Regions from separate parts of the Homo sapiens genome. Here region 1 is linked to region 2. Evidence: promoter capture Hi-C in 16 types of primary human blood cells and fetal thymus (Javierre and others, 2016). All regions are on one chromosome and are shown on one strand. Each heading gives the region's core, a stretch centred on a gene start or on the middle of the fragment in contact. The rest is flanking DNA. Distances are from core to core; before and after follow the strand shown. Region 1 overlaps AHI1-DT (AHI1 divergent transcript). Region 2 holds the start of SLC18B1 (solute carrier family 18 member B1).

What was found. The method cuts DNA at HindIII sites, captures the fragments that hold promoters and counts their contacts. A CHiCAGO score of 5 or more calls a contact.
Region 1: a fragment that was not itself captured here is called in contact with the fragment with the promoter of SLC18B1 in region 2 in 1 of 17 cell types (total CD4 T cells); the score reaches 10.4 in total CD4 T cells.

What each region holds. Positions count from the first base shown.
Region 1 is chr6:135,498,708-135,502,346 of GRCh38, reverse strand. The region is part of intron 2 of AHI1-DT (AHI1 divergent transcript); the gene reads right to left. Among named protein-coding and RNA genes, the nearest start is that of AHI1-DT, 2.7 kb to the right of the region's middle. The HindIII fragment of the contact is 6,529 bases long and covers 1-3,639 here.
Region 2 is chr6:132,796,809-132,800,909 of GRCh38, reverse strand. SLC18B1 (solute carrier family 18 member B1) reads left to right here and starts at 2,273. Exons shown (of 14, transcript NM_052831.3): 1 at 2,273-2,496; 2 at 3,789-3,928. The coding sequence starts at 2,454. RefSeq lists a silencer at 2,206-2,255 and an enhancer at 3,487-3,987. The HindIII fragment of the contact is 1,643 bases long and covers 2,038-3,680 here.

The DNA.
Region 1 (3,639 bases), core at 805-3,304, 2.7 Mb before region 2:
ATCTATTTTATTCCTAAACGGTTCAATTTATATACATACATATATATATACACACACACACACACATACACATATATGTGTATATATATTTATACATATATGTGTGTATATATACATATATGTGTGTATATATATACATATATGTGGATATATATTTATACATATATGTGTGTATATATGTTTATACATATATGTGTGTGTATATATATATATATACACACAATTTTTTTCATGGATACTCAGCCAATTTTTAGAATTATTACCATACTACCACTCTTAATTGTTTGCCTCTCCTAGGATAGCGGAGTGCCCTTGGTCTTGCACTCTCGACTAATGAGAGCTAAAGCAACATATCTGCTTTATTCAGTTTGAATGGGGCTCATTAATATGTTTAGTATATACTCAACTGCCTGCTGAACATCCCACTCCATACATCCCATTGCAACTAAACATCTTTTCCTCCATGCTTGCTCTTCCTGATTTTTTGTCGTTAACTGATTAGCCATTCTCCACCCAGTTACCTGAGCCAGAAACCTCGGCACCTTTCAAACTTCTTTTATAGTTTTAAAATAATTATAAACTTACAGAAAAATTGCAAGAATAGTATAAAGAACTTCTGCTTTCGCCCAAATTCCCTGTTAACATTTGCTTTATCATTTTCTTTATGTATATTATTTATGTTTATATTTATTTACAGTATTTATGTATACTTTTTTCCTGAACCATTTGAATAGGTTGCAGATATGAAGCCTCATCACCTTTAATACTTCAATATGTATTTTCTAAAACCAAAAATATCTATGTCACTATAGTCATCAAAATCAGGAAATTAATATTGTTAAAATACTACCATCTAATCCAGAGACCCCATTCAAATTGTTAGTTGTCCCAATAATATCCTTATAGCAAAAGGATTCAATTCAGAATCATGTATTCCACTTAATTGTCATGTATCTTAATTCTCCTTCAATCTAAAAACGTTCTTTAGTTGTTCCTTTGTCTTTCATGACCTTGATCTTTGAAGAGTACAGGTCTATTATTTTGTAGAATGTCCCTCAATTTGGGACATTTGGGTTGTCTGATTTTTTCCTCACGATTGATTCGGATTACACATTTTTGGCAGGAATGTCACAGAAGTGTATTCTAAGTGCCTCTAACCAGGACATACACGATGCTGATTTGTCTCATGACTGCTGATGGTAACTTCGCTCACCAGTGCCAGATTTCTACACTGTCAAGTTTTCTAATTTTTCTCTGTGTAATTAATAAGTATTTGCTGGAGAGATACTTTGAGACTATATAAATATTATATGTCTCTTAATACTCTCACCCTCTAGTTTTAGCATACACTGATGATTCTAGTCTGAATCAACTGTTACTATCATGACTGCCAAATAATGATGTTTCTACATATAACACTGTCTACATTCATTACATTTAGTTGGCATTTTTATGTAAGGCAGAGCTTTTCTTTATCCTGATTTTTCAAAAAAATCATTTATTCATTTTAGTATGGGCTCAAATATTCCTATTTTATTTAGCGGACTATAATCCATTAACATTATATTGGTGCTCAGATTGACCCAGATGTGGCCAGTGGTGGCTCCTTCAAGCTGGCTTCTGTGACCTTTTGATATGTTTCTTCATTCTGTATTAACTTCCTTAACTTCTGGTGCAACAAGAATTTTCCAGGCTCCTGTTCTAAAATCAACCATTTCTCCAAGGGACCCAGTTACTTTTAGTGAATAATACTGTTCAGAAACCAAGATCTAGGCACATGTGCTCATTGCTTCTAGTATACCATTACTCTGAAACCCTTTCAGCAGATAGAGCTAGGAAGAGCATAATAGATAGATACGCACACACATACAGACATACTTTCCTCTATATTTATTTTTACATATGTTTATGTATATATTGAAAACTATGAGTTGACACTGACATATTCAATTCCAATTCAACATCACCACAAAGGTCACTGTGGAATTCTTCCTCTCTCAATTTGTAACGTCCTTCTCTGTCAGTGAGAAACCTGGCTCCCATTAGACCCAACATATTTATTTCCTCACTCCCCTTTCATGCTTGCCACCTCTTTACTTGCCAAGGGGAAGGCAAAACAGCTGGTCATCGTTTTTTATTATTTCTTATCATTCACTCTTCCATCCAATCAATCACTAAGTCCTGACATTTTTACCTCCTAAAAATTTCTCAAATTGGTCCATTTCTCTCCATTCTGATTTTTCTTAGCCTTGACCATGCCACCTTTGTCTCTTACATGGCTTACAGCAACGGCATCTTAAATGGTATTCCCAGATCTAGATTTGCTTCCTTCCTGTCTGTTCTCCACCCTGCAGCCAGAGTTATCTTTATGATATTAAAATTTGAAAATTTCACTCCATAAAATTCTATAGTGGTATTCCACTGACCAATACTGTCTGGGTCTCTTCATAGCTTGTTTAACTCTCTTGTTTTGTCTCCTCCAAAAGCCCCTAGTCTCATTCTCTACCTTTTAGTTAGCCAACTTGAACTTTTTTTTTTTTTCTTCCAGTTCTTGTATTATACCAAACTTTCTTGTAGTGAACACTATACGCCACCTTCTTCTACCTGGAAACCCTTCCTAACCTGGACAACTCTACACATTATTTTGGTCTTTACTTAAATGTCACTTCTGCTATGAAATATTCCCTGACCTCCCCCACCCCACTGCACCTCTGCATGCTACTGTAAATGGAGAAGCAAGAGATGATAACAGGGTTACACATCCGCTAGTCTGGGGATTGTATTCTGAAACTAACACCCTACTAAGAATGAGCAGTCAGAGTTATAACTTCCCTTTGGAAAAGCAGGTACTTAAATGCAGTTGTGAGGACAGATGAAAAGTACATAAAACACCTACAATGCATACCTCCTAGAAGGAGCTCAATATATGTTATCCATTATTCATTCAACAAATGTTCATGAAATGCCAACTATTTCATAGACACTGTGGTAGATGCTGGGGATAGAGAAAATACAAAGTAAACTATGAAACTATAGAATGAGCATCCAAAGTCTAATATATAGAATGAGTATCCGAAGTCTAATAGGGAGTAGGAGTGTTTGAAGGAGTCAGTCAACCTGCTTAAGATTCAAAGGATGGACAACATTTGGCTGTGATGCAGGAGTGTAAAAGGAGGAATTTTCAGGAAGAGAGGACAATATGAGTAAGGACGGGGCGTGAAAGGCTATGGATTGTTTTTCATGGTACACATAATTCAATGTTGCATAAAACTGCATGGTACACATGATTCAATATTGCATAAAATTGGAACAAGAAGCTAACGAGAGATGAAACTAGTCAGGGAGATGGAGAATCTTGTATCCTAGGCAAAGTAATCATTTTCTCTTACAGATTGCCTTTCAAAAATTTTCAGCAGGAGAGTGCCATTATCCGATTTACATTTTTAGTCAGGTCATTCTGATAGCAGTGTGGAGAATTTAAGAGTCAAACTGGAGTCAGAGAACTGGTAAAGGGCCCATCTGAGGAAGTTAAAAAGAGAGAATGGATATGCTTTGGCATAAGATGCATTTAGGATACTCTACTGTTCTTACTAAAACACTGGGAGGATTGTGGTGGCTTACAGCAAGATAGAAATCTAG
Region 2 (4,101 bases), core at 1,024-3,523:
CCCTCTACAGATTGATGTTAGATTGAAGAGAAAGCATAGAGTTAAATGAGATTGGAGAAGCTGTCAGGGGTTAGATCATAAAGATTTCATAAGGCTACTTTAGGGAAACTTTGCTAGATTGGAACTTTCTTTTCTTTTCTTTTTTTTTTTTTTTTTTTTTTTTTGAGATGGAGTTTCACTCTTGTTGCCCAGGCTGGAGCACAATGGTGCTGTCTTGGCTCACCACAACCTCTGCCTCCTAGGTTCAAGCGATTCTCCTGCCTCAGCTTCCCGAGTAGCTGGGACTACAGGCATGCGCCACCATGCCCAGCTAATTTTGTATTTTTAGTAGAGACAGGGTTTCTCCATGTTGGTCAGCCTGGTCTCAAACTCTCGACCTCAGGTGATTTGCCTGCCTCGGCCTCCCAAAGTGCTAGGATTACAGGCGTGAGCCACAGCACCTGGCTTAGAGTGGAACTTTCTGTTCAGAGTGGTTCTCTAGGTTCTCCTTTACAACTTGCCCACTGGGGAATTTTTTTTTTTTTTTTTTTGAGATGGAGTCTCGCTCGGTTGCCCAGGCTGGAGTGCAATGGCATGATCTCTGCTCACTGCAACCTCCGAGTCCCAGGTTCAAGCGATTCTCCTGCCTCAGTCTCCTGAGTAGCTGGGTGCCATCATGCCCAGCTAATTTTTGTATTTTTGTAGAGACGGGGTTTCACCGTGTTGGTCAGGCAGGTCTCGAACTTCTGACCTCGTGACCCGCCCACCTCGGCCTCCCAAAGTGCTGGGATTACAGGCGTGAGCCACCGCGCCCGGCCCTCACTGGGGAGTTTTTACATAACCTTCAAGAACCAAGGTAACATCACTTCCTCAGGAAGTCATCCAGGACCCATTTGCCAAAGTAAATGGTTCTTCCAATATGTTTGTATACAACCGATTGCATTATAGTAGATTATTAATTAGTGTGAATTTCATCTGCTAGAAGGTGTGCTACTTGAGGGCAGAGTCTGGATGGGGCTCATTCCTCTTTAAATTCATAATGCCTGGCACAAAGTGGTAACTCAGTCTTTTGTTTTGCTTTGGCTTCAAAACAAGAATTTCCCAGTCCTTAAACTTTATTTATTTATTTGAGACAGAGTTTCGCTTTTTCACCCAGGCTGGAATGAGGTGGCACAGTAATTACAAACTTACTATCAGCCATACTGTGTACTGGAACTGACCTTGTACAGTGGATCTGAGGCAGATTCTCAGTCGATAAAGCTACCCTCACACAATTCTTTTGGATCTTGGCTCACTGTAACCTCCGCCTCCCAGGTTCAAACGATTCTCCTGCCTCAGCCTCCCTAGTAGCTGGGATTACAGGTGCCTGCCACCACGCCTGGCTGATTTTTTTGTATTTTTATAGTAGAGACAGGGTTTCACCATGTTGGCCGGGCTGGTCTAGAACTCCTGACCTCAGGTGAGCTGCCCACCTCGGCCTCCCAAACTGCTGGGATTACAGGCATGAGCCACCGTGTCCAGCCAGTCCTCGAGCTTTAACACTTCCCAAATAGTAAATACGGTGAAAATAAGTGAAACCTATTTTTTATGCAAGAAAACTGTGAGTGTGAGAGTAAGGTAGCAGCCATCATGTTCATGTGCTAACTACTAACACACTTTATCGCCAATGCTCACAGCCGCCCTACGAGATAAACATTATAATCTCAGTTGTACAGGTAGAGAAACTGACCTTGTCATCCAAAGTTACACACTGCCAGCAAGTGCCCTGGCTTGAATCCCTGGCACCTGCCTCCAGAGGTCGCACTCCTAGCCACTTCGCCATGCTTCCTCGATATTCATTAGTATTCTTGCAAATATTTTTCGACTCCAGGTGCTTCACATAGGTTAATTCATTTCCGGTTCAATAGTGTCTGGCTTCAGTAATTACGAACACTACCGCATTTACCCACTGTGAAAAATAATTCACTCTTTCAAAGTTCCTGTATAACCTAATTTTCTAATTCACTTTTGTGTCTTTCAGTTGAGGTACTCCCTGCCTTTTCTGTGTCTACATAAGCTTCCTTTCTTTCGTTTCGTAGGAATAAATTGAACTTATTTTAAGATTGAGGGGGGTACAGCTGTATGGAATATAGACTCATCTTTTTTCACTCTCTGTCACAGAATGAAAAAGGACACCATGATATAGCAGCTGAGGTGGTGGATTAAGATAATGAGGCGGGGGGGGGGCGCAAAACAAAAAAAAAAGGAGCCTTGCTCCACCCCTGCCCCGCCCCCGGCCTCCTCCCGGGGACCCAGAGTCCTGGAAGGCTTTGGGGAGCTCCGGGCCGGGCGGATCGCTGCCTGCAGGGAGTCGGGGATGCCAGGTTCCAGCTGAGCAGCGGCCGCCCGCCAGAGTGCCAGTGGCTCCTTGGAGGTCGAGTCCAAGGACGTGGCTTGAAGCCGGGAGCTGGGGCGCCGGAGTCCACGCACCGGGGATGGAGGCGCTGGGTGACCTGGAGGGACCACGCGCACCAGGAGGTGACCATGAATTGCGTGGCCGGGAGCCCGGAGACCAGCGGCGGCTTCCGGCGTGTCTCTTTAGCAACGATTGAATTGCTTATAGCTTGATCTGTTTCCGAGAGATTGGAAAAGGCTGGGGCCTGATCGTGGGGTTCGGGCCAGCGTTTCTTTTCTCTCTGGACGGGGTAAAGTTCCAGGATTGGATATGTGTCACGGTTTCTAATGACTTTCTAACCTATACCTCTGCTTTTTAAGTACTGTGTGTTTAATGCATTCAAATAAGTATGCCATTAGGCAAATGTAAAACGTTACCTTTCAAGTACCCATTGTTGTTGCCTTTCTTTTTAACTTTCATTTCCCTTTCTCATCTACTACAAACATTTTACAAAGATTCGTAAGACTTCCTCATGTTGCACTGATTTTTTTTTTCCTTCTGGACTGCAATGGCAACCTCTGACAAATAGAGCAAAGCAAATGTATTTCTCTTAAGTTTTTCCTAAAAACAATTTAATTTATAAATGGCTGATGGATTTGCTTGGATATTTGGAACTCAGTAATTGATTTCGTGTTTTTAAATGACAATTTAGCCCTGGAAATAAGTGTTAAATTAACTGATGTAAAAGACCAGTAATTAGGGTAAAAAAAAAGTATTTATTTATGAATTTGTGGGACTTGTCTATCCAGAAGCATACCGCTGTAAATATTAATTCACCAGCTGAATGATTTAGCTTGTTTTCTCCTACTTACACTTCATTTGACTTCAATACTGCCTTAGAAATCTTTGTTTTTTGTTTTTGTTTTTGTTTTTGTTTGTTTGTTTTGTTTTGCTTTTTTGAGACGGAGTCTCTCTCTGTAGCCCAGGCTGGAGTGCAGTGGTGCGATCTTGGCTCACTGCAAGCTCCGCCTCCCGGGTTCACGCCATTCTCCTGCCTCAGCCTCCCGAGTAGCTGGGATACAGGGGCCCGCCACCACGCCCGGCTAATTTTTTGTATTTTTAGTAGAGACGGGGTTTCACCGTGTTAGCCAGGATGGTCTCGATCTCCTGACCTCGTGATCCGCCTGCCTCGGCCTCCCAAAGTTCTGGGATTACAGGCGTGAGCCACCGTGCCCAGCCGAAAGCAGTACGTTTTCAAAACGGCAGTAATGTACAAGGATTGTGTTCCATTTGATCAAATGTGCTATATTCAAAATAGCCCTAAGCTTAGCAAATGATATCTTCAGAGTGCAACATATGTGCACAGAAATCACATTTGTGTACTTTAATCAGTAGTCTCAATTATATGCCTAATTGCTGCATGTTTGCATTCAAGGTGATGATCCTGCAGGAAGTGCAGGAGAGACCCCCGGGTGGCTTTCGAGAGAACAGGTTTTTGTACTGATATCGGCAGCTTCGGTGAACTTAGGTTCCATGATGTGCTATTCTATACTTGGACCGTTTTTCCCCAAAGAGGTAAGACATTTTTAAATCCTTAGGACCTCTGTTTTTTTGTTTGTTTGTTTTTTAAAAGCCTTTTGAATTATTTTATTTTATAGTATATAAAATGTAAAAATCTGCATATAGGACAGATGGTGTATAGAACTCCAGCCAATAGAATACTTCTTATAGAATGCCTGATACCAGGA